Linked DNA regions of Homo sapiens: region 1 is linked to region 2. Evidence: promoter capture Hi-C in human tissues and cell types (Jung and others, 2019). All regions are on one chromosome and are shown on one strand. The core of a region is centred on a gene start or on the middle of the fragment in contact, and the rest is flanking DNA. Distances in the headings are between cores, read along the strand shown.

Region 1 (5,497 bases), core at 932-3,431, 61 kb before region 2:
GTGTTTCAACCAGCACTTTGGTGAAAAACGTTGGAGTCTGTGTTTCCCTCGCACTGACTTTTTGCATTGCTTGGTGTTAGCGAGCTGCCCCGCCTCCTCTGTAGTGAGAAGTGGGTCATAAATCACCCACCCGTGGCTCAGAAGAAGTACTCAGGACCTGGGTGAAGGGGCAGGGAAGGGATGGACCCGGGAGAGGGCTTGTCCCACCACTAGGGTGAGAAAGCAGCTCCGCGGAAGGGAAACTGCGCCTCTGCAACTCCCCAGAGAGCCTCCCGCAAGGCCTGGACCTGGCTGAGTCCCCGCGTGCCCTGGGGTAGGGGCTCCCATAGCCCCCAGAGCTTCCTCTACAGCCAGTTTGTGCTGCCCACAGTGGGCCGGGGCCTCTCCCCCTGGGAAGCTGAGTGTCCCACAGTCCTGGGCAGTCCTTGGGGCCACCACCTGGCAGAGGTGCTCCCTGTAGTGGTCACAGCCTTCGCTGGAGCTGCCTGAGGCTGTCCTGCCTTTCCCAGGACTTCGCTGGGACTGCTGGCCTTTGGAGGAAGCTGGGAAGCACCTGAGCACTCGGGAGAGACTGGGCTAGTCTGGAGCTGTCTCTTGGTCCCCAGGGTGAGGGATGGGAGGGCTGAAGCTTGGTGAACAGGCTCGACCTGGACACATGTCATTGAGACAGCATCTGAAAGGGGCAGGCAGAGCCGTGACAGCCGGGACTTCCAGGGCGTTGCCACCAGCTATGGGGGAGTGTGCTGGGCCGTCCCGCTCCTGGGGAAGGATTTTCCATGTTCTCGTCTTACAGGAGAGAAAAGAGCCGACGAGAGACCCAGCCAAGTCCGTCCCAGGGGCTGTGTCACTCTGCTTGGGTATCCCAGGGGTGACCCAGCTTCTGTCCCCTGCCCAGCTGGCCCCAGTTCTGCTTCCCGGGGACTCAGACCTTCCCTCCCTTCAGTGCAAAGGGGCAGGGTAGGTCCTGGGCCCGCAAGGCCAGGCCTCAGTTTCCCCTTCCTCGTGACAGATTTGGCCCCGCCGGCCCCTCAGCCCACCTGGCTTTTGTCCTTGCAGCCTGGATGCCCTATTTCCTTGGGGACCCCAACACTGTTTTTTCTTTAAGTGAATCTAGAAAAACACATGGCCACACAGCCCTTGCCAAACAATTCCAGAACAATCCTTGGATCGCTTTGGAAAAAGTAAGCATTCCCCTTCCTCTCCCACTCTTCTGAACTCCACCCACCCATGCAGTGGGAGCGACTGAGATGCTCGCTGCTTTCAGGGGAAAGACCTGGGGGCCGAGGGCACCTGACAGAGTTGCCCCTGCCCAGGCCTGCATGGGGTGAAGCTAGGCAGGGCCCTTCACTGCAAAAATGTTTGGGCTCGGGAAGGACCCCAGGGCTCCTGCACGTATGAGGGCCAGGCTATTTGACGGAGATGGGGCCAAGGTCATGGCAACGGGAGGATGTGGGAGGGTGGACAGAGTTGGTCCTAGGACATGGGTCCTGCCCTTGAAGTTCCAGACTCTGCCCAACCCTGAGAATCAGCTGCCTTCCGGGGGGGGAGCCCCTCTGCTGACCAAGCCTGCCCTGTCCCCAAATGAGCATGGCTGCCCCCAGCCCAGGCTCCTCCTTCAGGCCTCTCTGCCCCAAACCCAGGACAAGCTGCTCATTCACCCCCAACAGGGGCAGAAACCAGGCAGTGAGGGTGACAGGATTTTACTGTGGGATCAGGGATGGTGGAACAACAGAGCAACCCAGAGGACACAGGACAAGTGAAGCCTGAGCCCAGCCTGTCTTGGGGTCCGAGCCTGTCTTGGGGTCCGAGCCTGTCCTGGGGTCCCAGCCTGTCCTGAGGTCCGAGCCTGTCCTGGGGTCCCAGCCTGTCCTGGGGTCCGAGCCTGTCCTGGGGTCCCAGCCTGTCCTGGGGTCCGAGCCTGTCCTGGGGTCCCAGCCTGTCCTGGGGTCCCGGCCTGTCCTGGGGTCCGAGCCTGTCCTGGGGTCCCGGCCTGTCCTGGGGTCCGAGCTTGTCCTGGGGTCCCGGCCTGTCCTGGGGTCCGAGCCTGTCCTGGGGTCTGAGGCTGTCCTGGGGTCCCAGCCTGTCCTGGGGTCCGAGCCTGTCCTGGGGTCCCAGCCTGTCCTGGGGGTCGCACACTGGCCCCTCCCACTGCCCCCCTTGGTGCGCTCTGTGCCTCTGCAGGCCTGGAGTCTGGACCAAAGTGCCTGACAGTGCTGGCCTTTGAAAAGGGAAGGGCCTGCCAGGCTCAGCCTCCAGGCTGCCAGGGCCCGGCCCTGACCTGGGTTGAACTCTTCATGGATGAGCTGGCAGAAGGACTGACCAACCTCGTGGGGAGATGTCCCAGCCCGGCCCTCAGGGAAGGTCCCACCCTCTGGCCTCAGCACACAACCAGCCATGTGACAGGTTCATACTCAAGAAAAATCCTAGGCACCCTTATTTAAGTAAAGCCGTAGGAATTTATTATATAGACTTTAAAAAATTTTTTTCTAGTTTTAAAAGCACTTCTTATAGAAAATGTTCAAATTAAATATCAAAATAAGAAATTTTAAATTACTCAAGCACTACAGGCATGAATATGTCTTAAATGCCTTTCCCCACTATATTTATGCAAAATACCATCTTGTTTGCAAAAATCTATACAGAGAAGACTCACCCACCATCCCACACATTTTAAAGGATTACGTGAAGTACAGATTGGATCCTGCCACCTTCCCCTTCCCCTTGAACATTTTGGTGCCAACGCATCTATATTAGCACAGCCATTCTGCACAGATACTGTTCTACAAATTTGCATTTTTCACTAATGTCATGTCACGGATGCTTTTCCAGATCAGTGGAAACAGATCTGCCTCCTTGTGTGAATGGCCACACTGCATTGTGTAGTATAACTGTTTTCCTCTTTCCTTCTTGCTGGATAGTTTGGGAGTTTCTAGTTTTCCCTACAACGAGAATCCTTGTATGAATAATGACAAAGGTTTGTCCTATTATTTCTGATAACATACATTCCCTACAAGTAGAATTATTACCTCAAAGATACTGTTCAATATCTCTTTATTAAGATACAAAATCTCTCTCTTTTTTTTTTTTTTTTTTTTTGAGAAGGTGTTTTGCTCTTATTGCCTAGACTGGGGTGCAATGGCATGATCTTGGGTCACCACAACCTCCTGGGTTCAAGCTATTCTCCTGCCTCAGCCTCCCGAGTAGCTGGGATTACAGGCGTGCGCCACCATGCCTGGCTAATTTTGTATTTTTAGTAGAGACGGGGTTTCTCCATGTTGGTCAGGCTGGTCTCGAACTCCCGGCGTCAGGTGATCCACCCACCTCGGCCTCCCAAAGTGCTGGGATTACAGGCGTGAGCCACCGCACCCAGCCTAGGATAAGAAATCTCTTTACTAAGGTAAAAACATTTCAGCAGGGATGCAAACCATCTCGTTTTTCTGAGGACTCTCCCAGGGACCTGTATGGCTTAAGAATCCAGAAATGTGATTATAACAGGGCTACTAAGGCAGCAGGTTATCAAGACAATCAAGCAGAATCCCAGGATTTGTTTGTTTGTTTGTTTGTTTTGAGACAAAATCTTGTTCTGTCTTGCCCAGGCTGGAGTGCCATGGTGTGATCTTGGCTCACTGCAGCCTCTGCCTTCCGGGTTCAAGCGATTCTCCTGTCTCAGCCTCCCGAGTAGCTGGGATTACAGGCGTCTGCCACCACACCCGGCTAATTTTGTATTTTTAGTAGAGACGGGGTTTCTCTACTAAAGGAGTTCAGGGTTTCTCAAACTCCTGACCTCAGGTGATCCACCCGCCTTGGCCTCCCAAAGTGCTGTGATTACAGGTGAGAGCCACCGCCCCCAGCCAGAATTCCAGGTTTTTATTTGAAGTTATTTTCAAAAACCATGGCCTCAGACTCTAAAGCCTTAGAAACACTGCAAGGCTCTTCTGTTTCAATAACAGTTCATGGTAATCAAGAGATTGGAAAGCTGATAACAGTTACAAAGTTTCACACAAGTTCTAATTTCCTATAGGAAAACAAGATTTATACTCTTGTAAATGGTCTTAATTCCACACCTTATCCAATCAAATTCTGTGATCAACCTTTATCATTTGGAATATCTCTCCTCCACGGTTTCAGGGGAAAGGAGAAATCTTTAACCCTCTCTTAGATTTTTTTTTGTTAATGCACATTTTCATTTTTAAGGAGAGGATCTGAAAATTCATTAGTTACCTGAGAAGCAAAAAGCAAACCCATGGAATTCGGTTTTACCCAGTCAAAAATGAAATGCATTAATAGGATCTTAGTTATAACAGCTGAAGGACGAGCAATATAATTTTTCTTCCGCAAAGAACAGAAACACTTTTCAAATGAATAGTTCAAAAGTTAATTCCATATGCCAATTCATTCTTTCACAGATAGGGAGCTGGCTTCCTTACAAGTTGCCAGGACTAGAGGCAATTACCTTGCTTGGTTTTTTGTTGTTGTTGTTTTTTGAGATGGAGTTTCGCTCTGTCGCCCAAGCTGGAGTGCAGCGGCACGAACTCCGCTCACTGCAAGCTCCGCCTCCCGGGTTCACGCCATTTTCCTGACTCAGCCTCCCGAGTAGCTGGGACTACAAGCACCCGCCACCACGCCCGGCTAATTTTTTGTACTTTTAGTAGAGACGGGGTTTCACCGTGTTAGGCAGGATGGTCTCGATCTCCTGATCTCGTGATCCGCCCACCTTGGCCTCCCAAAGTGCTGGGATTACAGGCGTGAGCCACCGTGCCCGGCCACCCTGTTTGTTTATTTTTTTGACAATCTGATGGGACCAAAAAACTAATGTTTTATGATTTTTAAACAACTTTATTGAGATATAACTGACATGCAATAAACTGCACATATGTAAAGTATGTGTTTAATTAATTTGCACATGTGTATATACTTGCGAAAGTATCACAACAATCAGCATAATGAGCATATCCACCACCACCAAAGGATTCACCATGCGCCTGGGTGACCCATCCCTCTCATCCTTCCCTGCTCCCCCACCTCCAGCTACCATCTGATCTTAGTTGAATAGTTAATATTTATAATGGCGGCCGCCAGGCCATCTCACTCACGGCTTTGGGGGCATCATTTTGCACAGCCCCTGTGGAGGGTGATTTGGGCTCATGGATCAGGCTGACAAATGCAGGAACCTGTCAGCCAGCCATTCCCCTTCCAAGAATGTATCTTATTCATTCTCTAACAGCTATGCAAAGTGGCCGGGTGCAGTGGCTCACTCCTGTAATCCCAGCACTTTGGGAGGCCAAGGCAGGCGGATCACTTAAGGCCAGGAGTTCGTTCGAGACCAGCCTGGCCAACATGGTGAAACCCGGTCTCTACTAAAAATACAAAAATTAGCCGGGCATGGTGGCAGGTGCCTGTAGTCCGAGCTACTCAAGAGGCTGAGGCAGGAGAATCACTTGAACCCAGAGGGCGGAGGTTGCAGTGAGCTGAGATTGCACCATTGCACTCCAGCCTA
Region 2 (5,198 bases), core at 1,124-3,623:
AGACCTTCCCTCCCGTAGCTGCTCCTCATCCTCCCAATCACTCTGCAGTGCTCACCCACTCCCCAGCCTCCCCAACTACGCTGGGACTGGACCATCGCTCCACTCCTCAACGCTCCAAAGGAGCCTCTTGCAGGTGACTGCCTGTACTGTGCCCTGGGCCGAAGCCCTGTGCGGGGCTTGTCCCCTCTCACTTCCCCACCTGCCATCCACCTTCACCTGATCACAGCCTCCGAGCTGCTCTCCTTCCCAGGCCCCCTCAATGCTGCCTCCTCGGATCAGTCATAAGAATCTTGCCTAGCACTTAGACGGTCGTTGGCCAACCTCCCCAACAGCACTTGGGTTTTCCTGTTGAGAGGGGGGACTGAGACAGAACTAGCTGGATTTCCTAGTCCGACTAAGAATGCCTAAGCCTAGCTGGGAAGGTGACTGCATCCATCTTTAAACATGGGGCTTGCAACTTAGCTCACACCCGACCAATCAGGTATTAAAGAGAGCTCACAGAAATGCTAATTAGGCAAAAACAGGAGGTAAACAAATAGCCAATCATCTATCGCCTGAGAGCACAGTGGGAGGGACAATGATCGGGATATAAACCCAGGCATTTGAGCTGGCAACAGCTACCCTCTTTGGGTCCCCTCCTTTTGTATAGGAGCTCTGTTTTCACTCTACTAAATCTTACAATTGCAAAAAAAAAAAGAATCTTGCCAAAACGTCAACCTCCTTTGTTTATTGTTTTTAGAGACGAGGTCTCGCTGTGTCACTTCACCCACTGCTGGAGTGCAGGGATGCGATCATAGCTCACCACAGCCTCAAACTCCTGGACTCAAGCAGTCCTCCCACCTAAGCGTCCCAAGTAGCTGGGACTACAGGTGCGCAACACCATGCCTGGCTAATTTTTATATTTTTTGTAGAGACAGGGGTCTCATTATGTGTGCCCAGGCTGGTCTCAAACTTCTGGCCTCAAATAATCCTCCTGCCTCAGCCTCCCAAAGTGCTGGGATTACAGGAGTGAGCCACCATGCCCGGCCCTATAAACCTCCTTTGAAAGCTTTCCTTGCAAGCTTTCCTTTTCCTTCCAGCCCCTGCAAATAAGGAAAATGACAAGGATGTTTGTTCTCACCATTCTTACTCCTCAACATTTGGCTGGAAGAACTAGTTAAGGCAATAAGGAAAGAAAAATAAATAAGAGATGTAAACACTGGGAAGGAGCAGATTAAACTGTCATTATTCATAGGTGATATGATTGTTGGCTTAGAAAATCTGAGGCTGAAAATTATTGGAGCTAATAAAAGGGTTTAGTAAATTTTGTGCATTGATTATGTAAATACAAGCAACACCTTTCCTATACCCTAGCAAAGCCTATTAGAAAGAGACACTTAAAAGACTTCCCTTCACAGTAGCAACAAAGCATAAGCCCCCTGAGCCGCTGCTGCCCTCGGAAGAAGCACAGCTCCATCCTTAGCTTGGCATTCAAGGCCTCTCCTAATGACCCCTCTGGCTTCAGTCCCAACTCATTCCCTCACTCTGATCACTCAGAAGTACCCACCTCTCCTCCACACCTTTGCACAGGCCATCCTCTCTGCCTACAATGACCTCAGCCCCTCCTTCTTCAGTTGTCAACTCATTGAAGGCTCAGCAGAAATGGCTCCTCCCCCAAGAAGCCTTCCCGGACCAGCTGAGCCCATACCATGTTCGGCACCTCCTGCTGTGGGCCTGATCCCAGCCCTGGGCACACCTGCCATGACGGAGGGACAGTTACAGAGCCTGGAGACCAGGAGACCCGCAAGGCAGGGAGTGAGCCTGACTCAGCCCCCAGCCATGGCTAGTACTCGGCACTTTCCCGGGGAAACCAGGAAAGTGAATCTGATGCCTGAGCTTGAGCGCGCGGGCATATACACACTTTTCTGGGCGTCGGTTTTGCACATCTGTGTGTTGGCCTGAGAGTGTCTCCCTGTATGTGCATGACTCTGCCCTGGAGTGTCCCCAGAGGGTCTGCCAGTGCTTCTGAGTCTGTGTCTGTGCCTGCATGCCCATCTTGGTGTCTTCTGTGTCTGTCTATCTGTGCTTTCTACCTGAGTGTGTCTGCCTGTGTATCGGGTGTGTGTGTGTCCACTGTGATTTGCGCTGGCCCTCTGGCCTGGTCGGCCTGGGCTCTGAGTGAGGCCCTTGGCCTGGAAGGCCACACGCAGAGCCGGAATGGTCCTCAAGCCCGCCCACAGCACCCCATGCCCTCCTGCTCCACCTGCCCAGAACATACCTGCTGAGCACGCAGCCTTGGCCCAGGAAGAACACAGCCCCCTGAGAAGCTGGCCCGTGGGGCCCTCAGAGCCGGGCCCTGGCTATGGGGCCTCTAGAGCAGCCTGAGCGAGTGACCAACAGCTGGGACTTCCCAGCCATGGTCAGCGCCTGCCAGGCCCACCCGGCCCCACCCACAGCCCTACCCTCCACCAGGACCCCATACTTTCACTTTCAGAGAAGTTCCCACTTCCTTTTCGTTCCGGAGGCAGTCACTCCAGCTTTCCATTCCAGACAGCTCAGGGCTCAGTCCAAGGGTCAGAGAACAAGGGAGGGGAAGGCTGCGGAGCTCGGCACTCAGGGTCTCGAGGCAGCAGGGGGTGGACGCTGCCTGCCACCCAAAACACCACCAACCTCTCCTTTGCTCAGAGGCCAGCGGAAGCAGGCGCTGGCCTCGGGGGACACTCAGCCCACAGTGCCGGAGCCCAGAAGGACCCCTCCCTCCAGGACAGAGGCTCTAGCACTGGGCCAGTCCATCGAGTTCATCCCGAGACCCCTGCACCCTGCCTGTCAGGGAAGCTCACGGTGACAGCAAAGGCAGCAGTTGAGAGCCACATGCCATTCCTGGGGGCTTCAGGAGCTAGAGAAAGGGATGGGGCCCTAGGGACAGACAGGACACACTCAGAAGTGAGAAGGGACGGCATCCTGGGCAGGGGCAAAGATGTGGAGGCGGGGCCCCACTCCCCACACCAGGGGGTCAGGCGGGCAACGTGCCGCAGGGAGGGCCACTGACACTTCCCAGAAGAGGCAGCCTCACCCCTGCATAGGGGGATTCCGCAGCGAGCGTCTTAGGAAACAACTCAGGGAAAATCCAAGGAGAACGGATCCAGGCCTGTCCCAACCTGGGCTGGGGCCACCAGGGTGTGTGATGGGGCTGCTGCAGGGTGCTGAGGTGGGCAGAAATAGCCTCCTGCACCAGCATCCTCTGGCTGAGGGCAGAGGTGGCCCCGTGCAGCAGCATCCTAGGACTGAGGGCAGGGAAGGCCCCATGCACCCAGTGTCCTAGGGCTGAGGGCAGAGACAGGCCGGTGCACCAGCATCCTAGGACTGAGGGCAGGGACGGCCCCATGCACCCACTGTCCTAGGGCTGAGGGCAGAGACAGGCCAGTGCACCAGCATCCTAGGGCTGAGGGCAGGGACGGCCCCATGCATCCAGTGTCCTAGGGCTGCCACGACAGGACCAGGGACTGAGCCTCAACAACAGACGTTTATTCTCTCCCAGTTCTGGAAGCCAGAGGCCCACAGTCAAGGCATGTGTGGGGCTGGTTTCTCCTGGGGCTGTTTTCTGGGTCTGTGGGTAGCGCCCCCCCTTCTTCCTGGGTCAACACAGGGCCTTCCCACTTCGTGTCTGTGTCCATATTTCCTCTTCATATGGGTTGGGGTCCACCCGAATGACTTAATTTTAACTTATTACCTCTTTAAAGGTCACGTGTTTTTATAAGGAATTTTCCAAATAAGGTCACATTCTAAGATTGGGACTTCAACATACGAATTTTTTTTTTTTTTGGAGACGGAGTCTCTCTCTGTCACCCAGGCTGAAGTACAGTGGCGCGATCTCAGCTCACTGCAACCTCTGCCTCCTGGATTCAAGTGATTCTCCTGGATTCAAGTGATTCTCCTGCCTCAGCCTCCTGAGTAGCTGTGATTACAGGCACGCACCACCACACCCGGCTAATTTTTGTATTTTTAGTAGAGTCGGGGTTTCACCATGTTGGCCAGGCTGGTCTTGAACTCCTGACCTCAGGTGATTGGACTGCCTAGGCCTCCCAAAGTGCTGGGATTACAGGCGTGAGCCACCGCGCCCAGCCCAACATACGAATTTTATGGGGGAAAAGCAGCCCATAACAGACTGGAAGGTGCCTGAGATGCTGCAGCACCATCTGCAGAGGGGCCAAATTAGACTCAAAGATGCCAGCACCTCCTCCAGGAAGCCCTCCAATTAACCACTTGAGTCACTACCCTGAGCCCTGGGTTCCCTCTGTGAAGTGGGGTGCTAAGAGTCCCACTTCAAGCCCGAGAGGTGCCCAGCAGCCCATAGGCCCTTCCTCCCAGCCCAGTCCCACCTGCTGGCCTGAGTCCCACCCCACCTGTCTCCAACAGGCAGAGATGAGGGGTAACAGGGAATAAGCAAAACTGAGCAGAGACAGCCGGGGTCCAAGGTGGCTGGCTCCCCAGGGCTCAGTGACCTGCTCTCGGCCACACAGGTGCCCAGAGAGGCCAGGACTGCGACCTAGGTCTCTGGCTCTGTGGACTGGGTCTTCCCATACAGCCAGGCCTTGGTGGACTGGAGACTTCCCGGTCTAATTCTCCCACCCGCCCCCCAGCTCCCAGGGCATGTTGGGGTCCTGGGACCTCCAATTATGGGTCGCTCCATTCAATACACAGGTGCCTGAAAAGCTGGTGGTGCCCAGGGCCTGGGGACTGCTCCTGGAAGTCCCCTCAACTCCCATCTGCTCTCCACAGGCACCTGAGCCTGTGCCCGCTTTTCAGCATGAGGTTGCAATGTTTCTTTCATGCTATGTCCATGTTTTCCCGAAGTTTCTCAGTAAAATCCCTTTGGAAAAACCCCAGCCTTATCTCAAAGAAGCCTGGGTCACGAGGTTGGTCTGGGGTCAGGAGAAGGCCGGGTGGGGAGCCGTTAGGAGGGAGAGGCCTAGCCAGGGACACCCACCAGAGGGCAAGCCCAGCTCCCCACGACCTTGGAGAGGCACCTCAATCTCTGAGCCCCAGTTTACTCCTCCAGAAAATGGGATTGTCGTCGGGATCAAATGGGTTCACCTTGGCTGAGGACCTGGCTCCCAGGTAGGGAAGGCCAGGGAGCAGGACCCCCACCACCAAATGCTTGCCTGATCTGGGGCTCACTGAGAGGCCAGGCTGTCACACCCGGGGTGTAGAAGCCAGAG

The links. Contacts are between HindIII fragments. The study calls those that stand out against the background at their distance.
Region 1: a contact is called between a fragment that was not itself captured here and the fragment with the promoter of EXOC3L4 in region 2, in 1 of the 25 tissues and cell types used here (IMR-90 fibroblasts).

What each region holds. Positions count from the first base shown.
Region 1 is chr14:103,152,014-103,157,510 of GRCh38, reverse strand. No RefSeq gene overlaps it. Among named protein-coding and RNA genes, the nearest start is that of TNFAIP2, 31 kb to the right of the region's middle. RefSeq lists enhancers at 1-681, 682-1,420, 2,145-2,439. The HindIII fragment of the contact is 5,254 bases long and covers 1-4,808 here.
Region 2 is chr14:103,091,900-103,097,097 of GRCh38, reverse strand. It overlaps EXOC3L4 (exocyst complex component 3 like 4), which reads right to left and starts at 2,373. Exons shown (of 12, transcript NM_001077594.2): 1 at 2,258-2,373. RefSeq lists enhancers at 1,795-2,364, 2,935-3,504, 4,978-5,157. The HindIII fragment of the contact is 13,551 bases long and covers 1-3,694 here.